2 separate regions of the Homo sapiens genome follow, and region 2 is linked to region 1. The links are contacts of gene promoters, found by promoter capture Hi-C in human tissues and cell types (Jung and others, 2019). All regions are on one chromosome and are shown on one strand. The core of a region is centred on a gene start or on the middle of the fragment in contact, and the rest is flanking DNA. Distances in the headings are between cores, read along the strand shown. Region 1 holds the start of KIF3C (kinesin family member 3C). Region 2 overlaps ASXL2 (ASXL transcriptional regulator 2).

Region 1 (5,952 bases), core at 3,166-5,665:
CACTACTTTTTGTATTTTTAATAGAGACGAGGTTAATTTTTGTATTTTTAGTAGAGACGGGGTTTCACCACATCAGCCAGGCTGGTCTTGAACTCCTGACCTCAGGTGATCCATCCACCTGAGCCTCCCAGAATGCTGGGATTATAGGCGTGAGCCACCGTGCCCAGTCAAAAAGATTGCTTTCTGAAGAATGAATACATAGGGGTAAGAGCAGACTCTGAATCTCCCCATTCAGAGAGGCCAGATTGGAGGCTACTATAGGAGGTCAGGCCAGAGAATACGATGGCTTGGTCATGATAGCCCCTATGGAAGTAGAAAATAAATGGATAAATCTGAGAAATACGCAGGAAGTTGGCAGAATTTCGTATTCAAATGGATTCAATGTATTCAAATGGATACACTGAGACTGAAGGAAGTGCTATTTACAGAGCTAGGTAATATTTTTGGAGGGGAGAATAATGAGTTCAGTGTGAACAAGTAGAAATTCAGGTACCTGGAGAGCCACCAAAGTGGCTCTGTCCATTACAGAGTCGGATATAGAGGTTTAGAACTCAGAAGAGAGGTCTGGACTGGAGATACAAATCTAGGAACTATATAGACAATAATGGAAGCCATAAGCTATAATGACACTAGAGGGTGGCACTGGAACTCACTGATGTCCTTGGTAAGAGAGGTCTCTATTGCGTAGTGGGAGGAGAAGCCATATAAGTTTGTTTTTTTAATTGAGATGGGGCTGGTCTCGAACGCCTGGCCTCAAATGCTCTTTCCACCTCGGCCTCCCGAAGTTCTGGGATTACAGTGTGAACCACCGCACTGGGCCAGTCATGTGAGATTGAGCAGTGGAATGAATAGAAGCTGAGGCTATGTAGACAGAAACAGACACAGTTAGGAAGACTGAGTGCAGTGGCTCATGTCTGTAATCCCAGCACTTTGGGAGACCAAGGTGTGAGAGTCACTTGAGTCCAGGGATTTGAGACCAACCTCAGCAACAGAGTGAGACCTGGCTAATGTTAAAAAATATTGTTTTTTGTTTGTTTGTTTTTGTTTTTTTGAGACAGAGTCTTGCACTGTCACCCAGGCTGGTGCAATCTCGGCTCACTGCAACTTCCACCTCCCGGGTTCAAGGGATTCTCCTGCGTCAGCCTCCCAAGTAGCTGGGATTACAGGTGCCCACCACCATGCCCGGCTAATTTTTTGTATTTTTAGTAGAGACAGGGTTTCATTATGTTGGTCAGGCTGGTCTCGAACTCCTGACCTTGTGATCCCCCTGCCTTGGCCTCCCAAAGTGCTGGGATTACAGGTGTGAGCCACCGCGCCCGGCCTAAAAAAATATTGTTTTTAATTATCCAGGTGTGGTGGCATGCAACTGTAGTCCCAGCTATTCGGGAGGCTAAGGCAGGAGGATAGCTTGAGCTCAGGAGTTTGAGGCTGCAGTGAGCCATAATCATACCACTGCACTCCAGCCTGAGTGACAGAATGAGACCCCTTCTCAAATAAATTAATTGAAATAAAAACAAAGTTAGGACATTTCGGGCAGAGGAGCAGCATGAGCAAACACAAGGAGACACAAAAAAGTGGGGTGTGTTTGGGGGACTTAAGCTAATCAGAGTGGCTGGAGACTTGAGTATGTAAGAGGAAGGAAAAATGAAGACAGCGGTGAAAATGGAGACGCTGAAGTGAACAGCCTTGAATGCAAAGGACAAGAGAAAAGAAAACTGCTATTTCTGGAGTGCCTCCTATGTCGTAGGAGTTTTTGCATACATTATCTCACTTAATCCTGATGTGTAAGGTAAGCCCTCTTTTTTTTTCAGAGACAGGTTCTCACTCTGTTACCCTAGGCTAGAGTGCAGTGGTACAATCATCGCTCACTGCAGCCCTGAACTTACGGGCTTAAGCGATCCTCCTACCTCAGCCTCCTGAATAGCTGGGATTACAGCTTGAGCCACCACACCTGGTCAATGTAAGCATTCTTATCCTCATTTATTCCACTGAAAAAATAGCTGTTCAGAGAAGTTAAATAATTTCCCCAGGATCACATATCTTTTTTTGTGTGTGTGAGATGGAGTCTTGCTTTGTCGCCAGGCTGGAGTGCAGTGGCGCCATCTAGCCTCACTGCAATCTCTGCCTCCTGGGTTCAAATTATTTTCCTGTCTCAGCCTCTCAAGTAGCTGGGACTACAGGCGTGCACCACCATGCCCAGCTAATTTTTGTATTTTTAGTAGAGATGAGGTTTCATGATGTTGGCCAAGATGGTCTCGATCTCTTGACCTCATGATCCACCCGCCTCGGCCTCCCAAAGTGCTGGGATTATAGGCGTGAGCCACCGCGCCTGGCCTAGGATCACACATCTTGTAAGCAACGCGATTCCAATCTCCCTCTCACACAAGAGGATCTGGGTAAGTCCCCTGCCAGGTGGTGACATCAAGTGGGGAGAACAGGGTGAGAATCCCTTTTATCCAGCGCTGTAGTGTCAGATACATTAGCCTAAGCAGAGAAAGGGTATTCAAAACCCAAAGCCGAATGCAACCAGAAAATAGTTGAAGAACTAAAGGCTCCATCCAGAAATCATGTTGTGAGAGCCAAGAGGGGTTAGTCTACGGAGCCAAAACCCCACCCCGTAATTGGTCCAAAAGCCATGTTAATCATAAGCAGTGGAGCTTAATCAAGGAGAGGGTGGAGGGAGGCCAGGGAGCTTCAGAAGCGGGCAAGCTCTCAGCTAAGTCTCAAGCCTCTAGTCCAGCTCACGCTAAAGTTCTGGGATGGGGAAGAGTTAAGGAGGTAAATTTTGTTGAGTTGGAAAACTAAACAATTGGGTCCTCTAGAGGATAACATGCTTGGAAATGTTTTGTGGAAAGACTCTTCTGGTGCCTCTGTGAAGAAGGGTCTCCAGGTTTCAGATAACAGCACCTCTCAATCTGGTTCTCATATGGAGAGTAAAGACAGACAGCTTGGGCTCAGTCCACAGACTCAACTGCCCTCTGCAGAGTGGACCATGGATAGGACTCTGGCTTGGTCCTTGGCCTTGTGGAATTACACTTTATTTGTATCCTACAGGAAAAAAAAAAAAGATTAAGACTCCCATAGAGGAACACCAAGCACAGACATGGTCTATCCAGGATACTCAAGGAAGCAGGAGCTGTCAGGCAATCCAAGCCAGGGCAGGACTTCTCATGGTACAGTACTTCATGATTCATTATTTCATTTGAGCCTCCCAACCATTCCATGAAGTAGTTGTTAATTATTTCTTTCCCGCCTCGAATTTTTAAAAAAATAAATGAGGAAACTAAGGCTGGAGCAAGGGGAGTGACTGCTCAAAGCCACTCCATTGGATGGCCATCAGAACTGGAACTTCAATCCAGGTTTTGTCTTAGGTAAATTCTGTGCCTCTTTCACTATAGAAAAAAAAAAATTGCTAAGGGAAGGCTTCGTGGAGGAGGAGGTGCTTGAACTGCCCAAGTGGCAGGGCACTAAGTGCCGAAGGGTGACCAGGCCTCTGGGCAAAAGCACAAAGATGCTGCACAGCAAAGCCAGTTAAAGAAACAAAACACGGTTCCGGGAATGTGCACTGCTTGAGGACAGGAAGGACCCAGATCCTAGAATGGGGCCTGGGGCTCAGCAGGCGCTGGATAACTGAAGAAATGGCTGTCTGGAACACAGATTTTTCTATAGAGGAGTAGTGGCGGTGAGGCTGCGAAGGCGGAAGATGGAGAGGCTTTCACACAAGGAAGGCGGTGGAGGAGGAGCGAGGGGGCTCCCGGGTGCTTGTGCGGACATAAGGTGCGAGAGAATCAGCTGGAAGGTGGGCTCCAGCAGAGAGAAGAGGAAGGCCAGAAGTAGACCGGGACAGGGGGAGGAAAGGACAGAGTCAAGGAACATTTAGGAGTTCGGTTCCCGGAGGCCTGGCGACACCCTGACGGGGAGGGGTGACGCGCACCCATTTGCAGGCAGAAAGGCAGGAGCAGGGGGGTGTCCGAGGATGGTGGCTCGGAGGGACCAGGCATAGGTGGTGCAAGCTCAGCAGTCACTCAAGGGGTGGCATGCGGATGAGGGAGGCGCCTCCCGGACTGGGGGACCGGGAAAGGCATTAGCAACCTGCCAGAACCCGGTTAACAAAGGCAGGACTACAATTCCCGGCATGCTCGGGCTCGGTGGGGTGACGGCGGGCGGTGGCTGCGCTGCACCCGACTGGTGGGCGCAGGACCTGGGTCGGCACCGGAGCCTGTCATCCCGGAGCGGTCGGCGGGGGTGCAGAGACGGCGATGCGCCCCTGTCCCCCGCACCCGGGCCGCTCCGGGCTCGCGCCTCCCGCCCCGCGGCCCCGCCCCCTGCCCCACCCCAGTCGGGAGGCTTAGCTGGGGCCGCAGCGCGGCGGCAACATCACTCTCGCTGCCGCTGCTCCGCCCCATCCCCTTCTGTTTTTCTCTCTCATTCTCCAGTGGCGGCGGCGGGGAAGGCGGAGGCAGAGGCAGCAGCAGCCGCGCTGGCTGCAATGAATGATCCCCCAGCTTGGGGGGAGGACTCCAGGTGAGCCTCTGCCCTCGGGAGGCCCGGGACCCCCGGCCGCCCACGACCGGCAGCCCACGCTATGGATCCCTAGAGGAAGGAGGAGAAGACAGCTCGCCGCCCACCCCCATCCCATTTTCCTCTTCCTTTATCTCATTGTTGCCGAAGCTGTTTACGGCAGCGCTCCCTCTGCTCCTGCATGGGGCGGGCTCCGGGCACGGCTGCTCGGCAGGCGCTGCTCCCGCGGCGACTGGGGGATTCTGCCTAATTCACCTCCCAGCCGGTGCAGAGAGGACCGGAGAGCGGTGGAGGCCCGGACTGCAGCAGCGTTGGGGCCACCTCCCAGCGTCCCCACCCTAGGAGGCTGCATGCGGATTGAAGAGCTGCGCCTGGGGGCTGGGCCGGCCCCGCTGATCCCGACCTAGCGAGCAGGATAGCAGGACCGCCCAGGCTGCGGAGGGGCTCGGGGGCAGGAAGGTCAGAGCAGCAAGATGGCCAGTAAGACCAAGGCCAGCGAGGCCCTCAAGGTGGTGGCCCGGTGCCGCCCCCTCAGCAGGAAGGAGGAGGCTGCTGGTCACGAGCAGATCCTGACCATGGACGTGAAACTGGGCCAGGTGACCCTGCGGAACCCCCGCGCCGCCCCGGGGGAGCTGCCCAAGACCTTCACCTTTGACGCCGTGTATGATGCCAGCTCCAAGCAGGCCGACCTGTATGACGAAACCGTGAGGCCCCTGATAGACTCCGTGCTCCAGGGTTTCAATGGCACGGTGTTTGCCTATGGCCAGACGGGCACTGGCAAGACCTATACCATGCAGGGGACCTGGGTGGAGCCCGAGCTGCGCGGGGTCATCCCGAATGCCTTTGAGCACATCTTCACCCACATCTCCCGCTCCCAGAACCAACAGTACCTGGTCCGGGCCTCCTATTTGGAGATCTACCAGGAAGAGATTCGAGACCTGCTCTCCAAGGAGCCGGGCAAGAGGCTAGAGCTGAAAGAGAACCCCGAGACTGGCGTCTACATCAAGGACCTCTCCTCCTTCGTCACCAAGAATGTCAAGGAGATTGAGCATGTGATGAACCTGGGGAACCAGACCCGGGCTGTGGGCAGCACCCACATGAATGAGGTCAGCTCCCGCTCCCATGCCATCTTCATCATCACTGTGGAGTGCAGCGAACGTGGCTCTGATGGCCAGGACCACATCCGAGTGGGCAAGCTCAACCTCGTGGACCTGGCTGGCAGCGAGAGGCAGAACAAGGCAGGCCCCAACACAGCGGGAGGGGCAGCCACACCATCCTCGGGTGGCGGTGGTGGCGGTGGAGGCAGTGGTGGTGGTGCTGGTGGAGAGAGGCCTAAGGAAGCCTCCAAAATCAACCTCTCATTATCTGCCCTGGGCAACGTGATTGCTGCCCTGGCGGGCAACAGGAGCACCCACATTCCCTACCGGGACT
Region 2 (5,993 bases), core at 2,955-5,454, 150 kb after region 1:
CTTGTCTTTACAAAAAAAAGAAAAAAAAAAAAAAGAAAACATGGTAGTGCAAGCCTATAGTCCCATGAATATATGTCCTATGAATATATGAGGTATTATTAGTACCTCGTATATTAATAATAATCACCTCAGGAAGTGTCAGAGGTGATTCAAACTCCAGCCTCCCAAATATGCTGGGAGGCTGAGGCAGGAGGATCACTTGAGCCCAGGAGGTCAAGGCTGCAATGAGCCGTGATCGTGCCACTGCACTCCAGCCCTGGGCAACAAAGCAAGACCCTGCCTCTTAAAAAAAAAAAAAAAAAAAAAAAGATAGAATTTCCCATAGGAGTAATAGGGAAGAAAAAAGACAGAAGTTTGGATGTTTCAGGTGAAATGGGAGGACATGACTTAGGCCAGGAGAGGTTAAGAACTGTTTCTGTTACACTTAGTAGTCAGAGTCAATAGCAAAGGCATTGTGGAGTTCTTTAAATTAGCTTAGTTCTTTTTGTAACAGTTAAAACAAGAAGACATGAAAAGTTATACTATAGATAAATGCTGTAGCTGTGATATCTGGTCATTTGTAAGTAGAGAAGAGTTAATTCCCATACTGTTTACCAATAAACAGTTATTTCATAAAATCAAAAATAGTAAAAAGAATTTTGTTGAGAGATGTCTCACCTCCTTGTTCAATTTTCTGTGGCTAAAATATAACCTAATTTCTGTTTGTTACATAAATACCAATGATAATGTGGCAGTGGTTTCCTAGGGTTGAGCTCTTCAACACAGAATTGCTTGTTCCAAATTTGAAGTACTGTTAGAACCTTTAAAACAATTTTGTAAGCTTTTACTCATTTGTTTTTCTGTAGACAGTTTGCTTTTTAAAAATCTATATTATTCATTGGGTAGAGATTTTGTTTATTGGGTTTGTTTAAGGAACCCCTATTCTCATTATTACAGCTCATGTGTTGATTCTGGATTATACTGTGCATTTGTATGAATCTAAATATTGAAGGAATGGTTAGGTATTTTGTTTCCCTCCTGAGACACTGGAAATAAAACCAAAGATTCAGAGAGATGTGTCCATTTTTGTGTACATTTTGACGGTATACTTCAGTTACTAAGGGAAACGATTCAGAATTTTATTTTACCTTGAATCAAAGTAACAGTTATGGCAAAATGGTTGTCATTAGCCATCAGTATATAAAATAGCCTTTTTAAAAAAGCGCTTTCCTTTTTGTCTGATGATGCTGATTTTACAGTTTGCAGAGAAACAAAGAGCACCTAGTGCCCCAGTTTAAGTTTCTCCCGACTTGTGCCCATATTTCTTCTTGTCATTACAAACTATTTGTCAGGAGTGTCAGAGGTGATTCAAACTCCAGCCTCCCAAATATGCTCACATGGCTACTCCCACACAGCTTAATGGAACTGTTTCTGGGATTTTGGGCATTGATAAGTTAAGAGTTCTGTGTAAGTCTCTGAGCTATACACTTCTATAGTTCTTATGGTCTGATCAGAAGACCAGAAAGTACACAGTAATTTGAACAGGAAAGTTATTAACTGGAACTTATTAACAGATTAACCAGGGATTAACTATTCAAAGGTAAAAAGAAAGCAGGGCTCTAGTTCAGTGGATGGCAAAGTTCATTGGTGCTGCAGCCTGAGGTGGCCACAGGAAACTGCCTACTAGGTACTAAAAGAGCTTAGCTGAAAAGCCCTCTGCTGGGGAATCTGTCCCACCTTTTGGGGAATAAATATTAGCTACTACATATTTATGTAATACATAAAAATATACAGGTACAGCTGAACACATGAGTGAATGTAACTTCTTTCTTTTTCTTTCTTTCTTTTTGAGATAGTCTCACTGTCACCCAGACTGGAGTGCAGTGGCACGATCATGGCTCACCGCAGCCTTGACTTCCTAAGTAGCTGGGACCACAGGCGTGCGCCACCGTGCTTGGCTAATTTTTTGTGTTTTTTTTTTTTTTTTTTTGTAGAGACAGGGTTTTGCCATGTTGCTCAGGCTGGTCTTGAACTCCTGGACTCAAGTGGTCTGCCTGCTTCGGCCTCCCAAAGTGCTGGGTTTACAGGCATGAGCCACTGCACCTGGCCGCCTCTTGGTTTTGTTTTATTTTGTTTTTTAATCACGGCTCACTGCAGCCTCAACCTCCCAGCCTCAAGTGATTCTCCCACCTCAGCCTCCCTAGTAGCTGGAACCACAGGCACACACCACCATGCCTGGCTAATTTTTAAATTTTTTGTAGAGACAAGGTCTCTGTGTTGCACGGGCTGGTCTCAAACTCCTGGGCTTAAGGGATCCTCCCACCTTGGCCTCCCAAACTGCTGGGATTACAGATGTGAGCCACAGTACCTGGCCTGAAGACGCTTTTTTAAAATATAAATTTTTACTTTTCGAAAATTGTAAAAACAAAAGGATACATCCTCCATCATAAACTATAAATAGTATTTACACCCTGGGCTGTTCTGAAATAAATTGCAGTCATTTTATCACATGAATATGTCACTTTATATCTAACAGATAAGAACTTGAGACTAGTTGTATGCAATTTGGATATTCTGGCTTACAAAAAATAGAACAATTAAATCTACACATTAAGCCTACACACTGTTGACAGAATACACGCCCTGAATATTCTTTGAAACCATGCCTATTAATTCTTTACTGTAACTACTCATTACTACTTCTGTGCTTAGGCTAGATATACAATAGGTTTTTCCCTTCCATCAGCTGTGGCTGCCATTAGTGTTTACAGATGTGCTTTTATAGCATTAAGTGTCGGACTTAATGCCTTCCTTCTGAAGTAGCTATTGCCTTTAGTGCTTCCCACGCCCCCCCCCCCCACCCCCCTTTGGAGTTTCCTTAACCTGCTTTGCTCGTCTTATTAACTGTAATATCTTGACTCTTCTATCAGCTAATAGAGAAATAGAGTTTTTAGGAAAGAAGAGAAAAATAGTAAAATATTCAGTTCTTGAGACCCTATTCTCTGACTAGTTTTTCTTGTCTTTCCATTCATGAATAGAAGAGGGGAAATAAATTAGGAAGATTATTTGTTCGTGAATTTATTGTCCACAAATTTGGCATTTTATGAATTAGACCATTCATGAGTGATCCCAAGGGTTCATGATATATAATTAGTAATTGTGGTGAGTTTGAATCTTTCACACTATAAGATTAGTATAGGTGAGTAAGTTATATAGCTAATGAATGAGTGTGGCCAACTGCCTAGATTGTAAAGAACTCTGGGAACCACCCAGCAAAGATTATGCTCAATAAACATTTTAGAGACTGAGATTTTACCTCTGTCTGGGGGAGTCCTAATGACATCTGATTAGTACTAATTTGTTTATGAAGAAAATAATCTCTTTCATACAGTATTTAAGGTTATATGTTTTAGCTTACTTTATACTAAAAACCAATCAGAGCACCTATTTTTTTTCCCATATCTCTCCACATGCAAAAGTGTATATAGCAAGGGAAATAAAGTCAATATTCTCTACTACTTTTCAGCAGAAATCCTTATCCCTGCAGAGTAGATCATTTGATTATTTGCCAAGCTGAATTGCCTTGAAGTGATTTCATTAGAAAGAGCTTAGTTTTAGAATGAAGAACATTATTTGTATTGATAATATATCTAAGGTTGGAGGATTCCTTTGTGGTTAAGCCTGCATCTTCCTCCTCTTTTTCTTTTTAAACATTTTAAAAATATTTTTTGTAGAGATGAGGTCTCACTATGTTGCTCAGGCTCATCTTGAATTCTTGGGCTCAAGCAATCCTGCTTTGGCCTCGGCATGAGGCACTGTGCCCAGCCATCTTCCCTATCTGTTAGTTGCAATCTGCTTTCAAGCCCACAAACCTGGTAGGGATGTCAAGAAGGATTAGTAATGAAAAAAATGACAACAAAATGCTTGGATATTGACAGAAAAGAGTATTCTTATCCATTGTAATTCAGATCCATAAGAGCTCCATTATGTATCACAGGGAAGCTAATAAACCTTAAGTCCACAGCTGATGGCGTTATGATGGCTCCTTGAAATTGAAATGCATGGGAAGAATATTAAAGAATGGGAAGTATTCATTGTATCCACATTTAAATGCCCTAACAGTTTTACTCTGTTACATAATCAAATTACTGCAACTGTTTTCTGAAGTAGTTTAGACTGTTTAGCTAAATTTGTTTATCTTTAGACATTTTGATATGATATTTTTGGCTAATTTATAAATTTTAATGAAGAAATTAATGAGGGGGTTACTAATTTGGGGAATTGTGGATATTGCTGGGATGGGAAGGGACAGTTTAATTTTTGGTTTTATTGTTGCTTTGTAAGAAAAATTAAAAGCTTTTTTTTTCCTTCTTTCATTTTCCTGCACTGCATTCCAACTCCAGAAGGTAAGAAGTATTACTTTATTCTAAAGAAGTATTATGCAATTATAAAGCACACTTTTATAAATTTAATTGAACTTACCTTTGGATGCATGAGTTTTACTTTATAAAACTAAATAATTAGTCCAGAAACTAAGTAATATCGATATTATTATGTTAGTGTTTATTCGTTAAGTGTGCTTTGTTTGGTTCTTGCAGTTTGTAATTATTGTTTGATCATAAGTTTAGAAATCCGATCTACATTAAGGTTTATTAAAATCAACATTTGACTTATAAAAGCGTTGGGATGCCAAGTATTCTGCAGAGTAATAATGAAAGTATTTAGTAGACTGGAAACATGTATATTAACATTTGCTTTATGGCTGTAAGATTGAAAATGTATGTTTGTGCTCTTAATTTAGATAAAATATTGGTAAATCGGCTGGGCATGGTGGCTCACACCTGGTAATCCCAGCACTTTGAGAGGCCGAGGTGGGTGGATCACTTGAGGTCAGGAGTTCGAGACTAGCCTGACCAATATGGTGAAACTGCATCTCTACTAAAAAATCCAAAAATTAGCTGGGTGTGGTGGCCGGCGCCCGTAATCCCAGCTACTCGGGAGGCTGAGACAGGAGAATTGCTTGAACCCACAAGGTGGAGGTTGCAGTGAGCCGAGATCATGCCACTGCACTCTAGCCTGGGCAACACAGCAAGACTCCGTCTAAAAAAAAAAAAATTGGTAAATCCTTTAGGGGCATGATACTTAAAACCAGGGCAGAATGGGTTAAAAATCAGTCTGGATCCTTTACTGAATTGACTTTTTGTGTGTGGGCATGGCCTTTTAGATTCACCTCCACTATAGCAGTTCCCGTGTTACACGCCTGTGAGACCTGAGGGCAACAGTCGTATTGCCTGTGAGACTTGAGGGCAACAGTCATGCCCATGTATTTTCATGTTACTTGGACATGGCATGCTTGGGTTATAATTAGAGCGTAGTTAGTCTTTTTAACTCTAGTTATATTTGTAGTCCATTAAGTTCATTTGTAAGAACCTGTTTATTGTAAGCAAGAGTTTGTGGATGAAAGCTTAATTAAGGTCTTACAAAGTTAAAATTATAATTAAAAAATAAAATAGGTATATTTTGTTTTGTGTTATGTTTGTTTGAAGGGAGCATGTATTTGATTTGTTCTTATTTATTTATTTATTTTTTTGGAGACAGAGTCTCACTCTGTCACCCAAGCTGGAGTGGAGTGGCATGGTCTCGGCTCACTGCAACCTCTGCCTCCCAGGTTCAAGTGATTCTTCTGTTTCAGCCTCCCTTGTAGCTGGGATTACAGGTGCCTGCCACCAACCCCGGCTACTTTTTGTATTTTTAGTAGAGACGGGGTTTTACCATGCTGGCCAGGCTGGTCTTGACTTCCTGACCTCAAGTGATCTGCCCGCCTTGGCCTCCCAAAGTGCTGGGATTACAAGCGTGAGCCACTGCGCCTGGTCATTGATTGGGTTCTTTAAGTGCAAATGATAGGAACCAAATGTGAATAACTTAAGCAAAACAAGATTTATTTAAAGAATATGGGAGCAGAGGCAAGACTCAGACTCAAAGGCAAGAAACGGGCTCTGAAATTAGGAGAAGGA

Evidence for each region. The method cuts DNA at HindIII sites, captures the fragments that hold promoters and counts their contacts. A contact is called where the count stands out against the background at its distance.
Region 2: a fragment that was not itself captured here is called in contact with the fragment with the promoter of KIF3C in region 1 in 1 of the 25 tissues and cell types used here (stomach).

The regions. Positions count from the first base shown.
Region 1 is chr2:25,980,960-25,986,911 of GRCh38, reverse strand. KIF3C (kinesin family member 3C) reads left to right here and starts at 4,415. Exons shown (of 8, transcript NM_002254.8): 1 at 4,415-5,952. The coding sequence starts at 4,995. RefSeq lists silencers at 4,167-4,336, 4,477-4,636 and enhancers at 4,626-5,135, 5,136-5,644. The HindIII fragment of the contact is 11,133 bases long and covers 1-5,952 here.
Region 2 is chr2:25,833,930-25,839,922 of GRCh38, reverse strand. It overlaps ASXL2 (ASXL transcriptional regulator 2), which reads left to right. Exons shown (of 13, transcript NM_018263.6): 3 at 4,383-4,385. Among named protein-coding and RNA genes, the nearest start is that of ASXL2, 42 kb to the left of the region's middle. The HindIII fragment of the contact is 3,251 bases long and covers 2,579-5,829 here.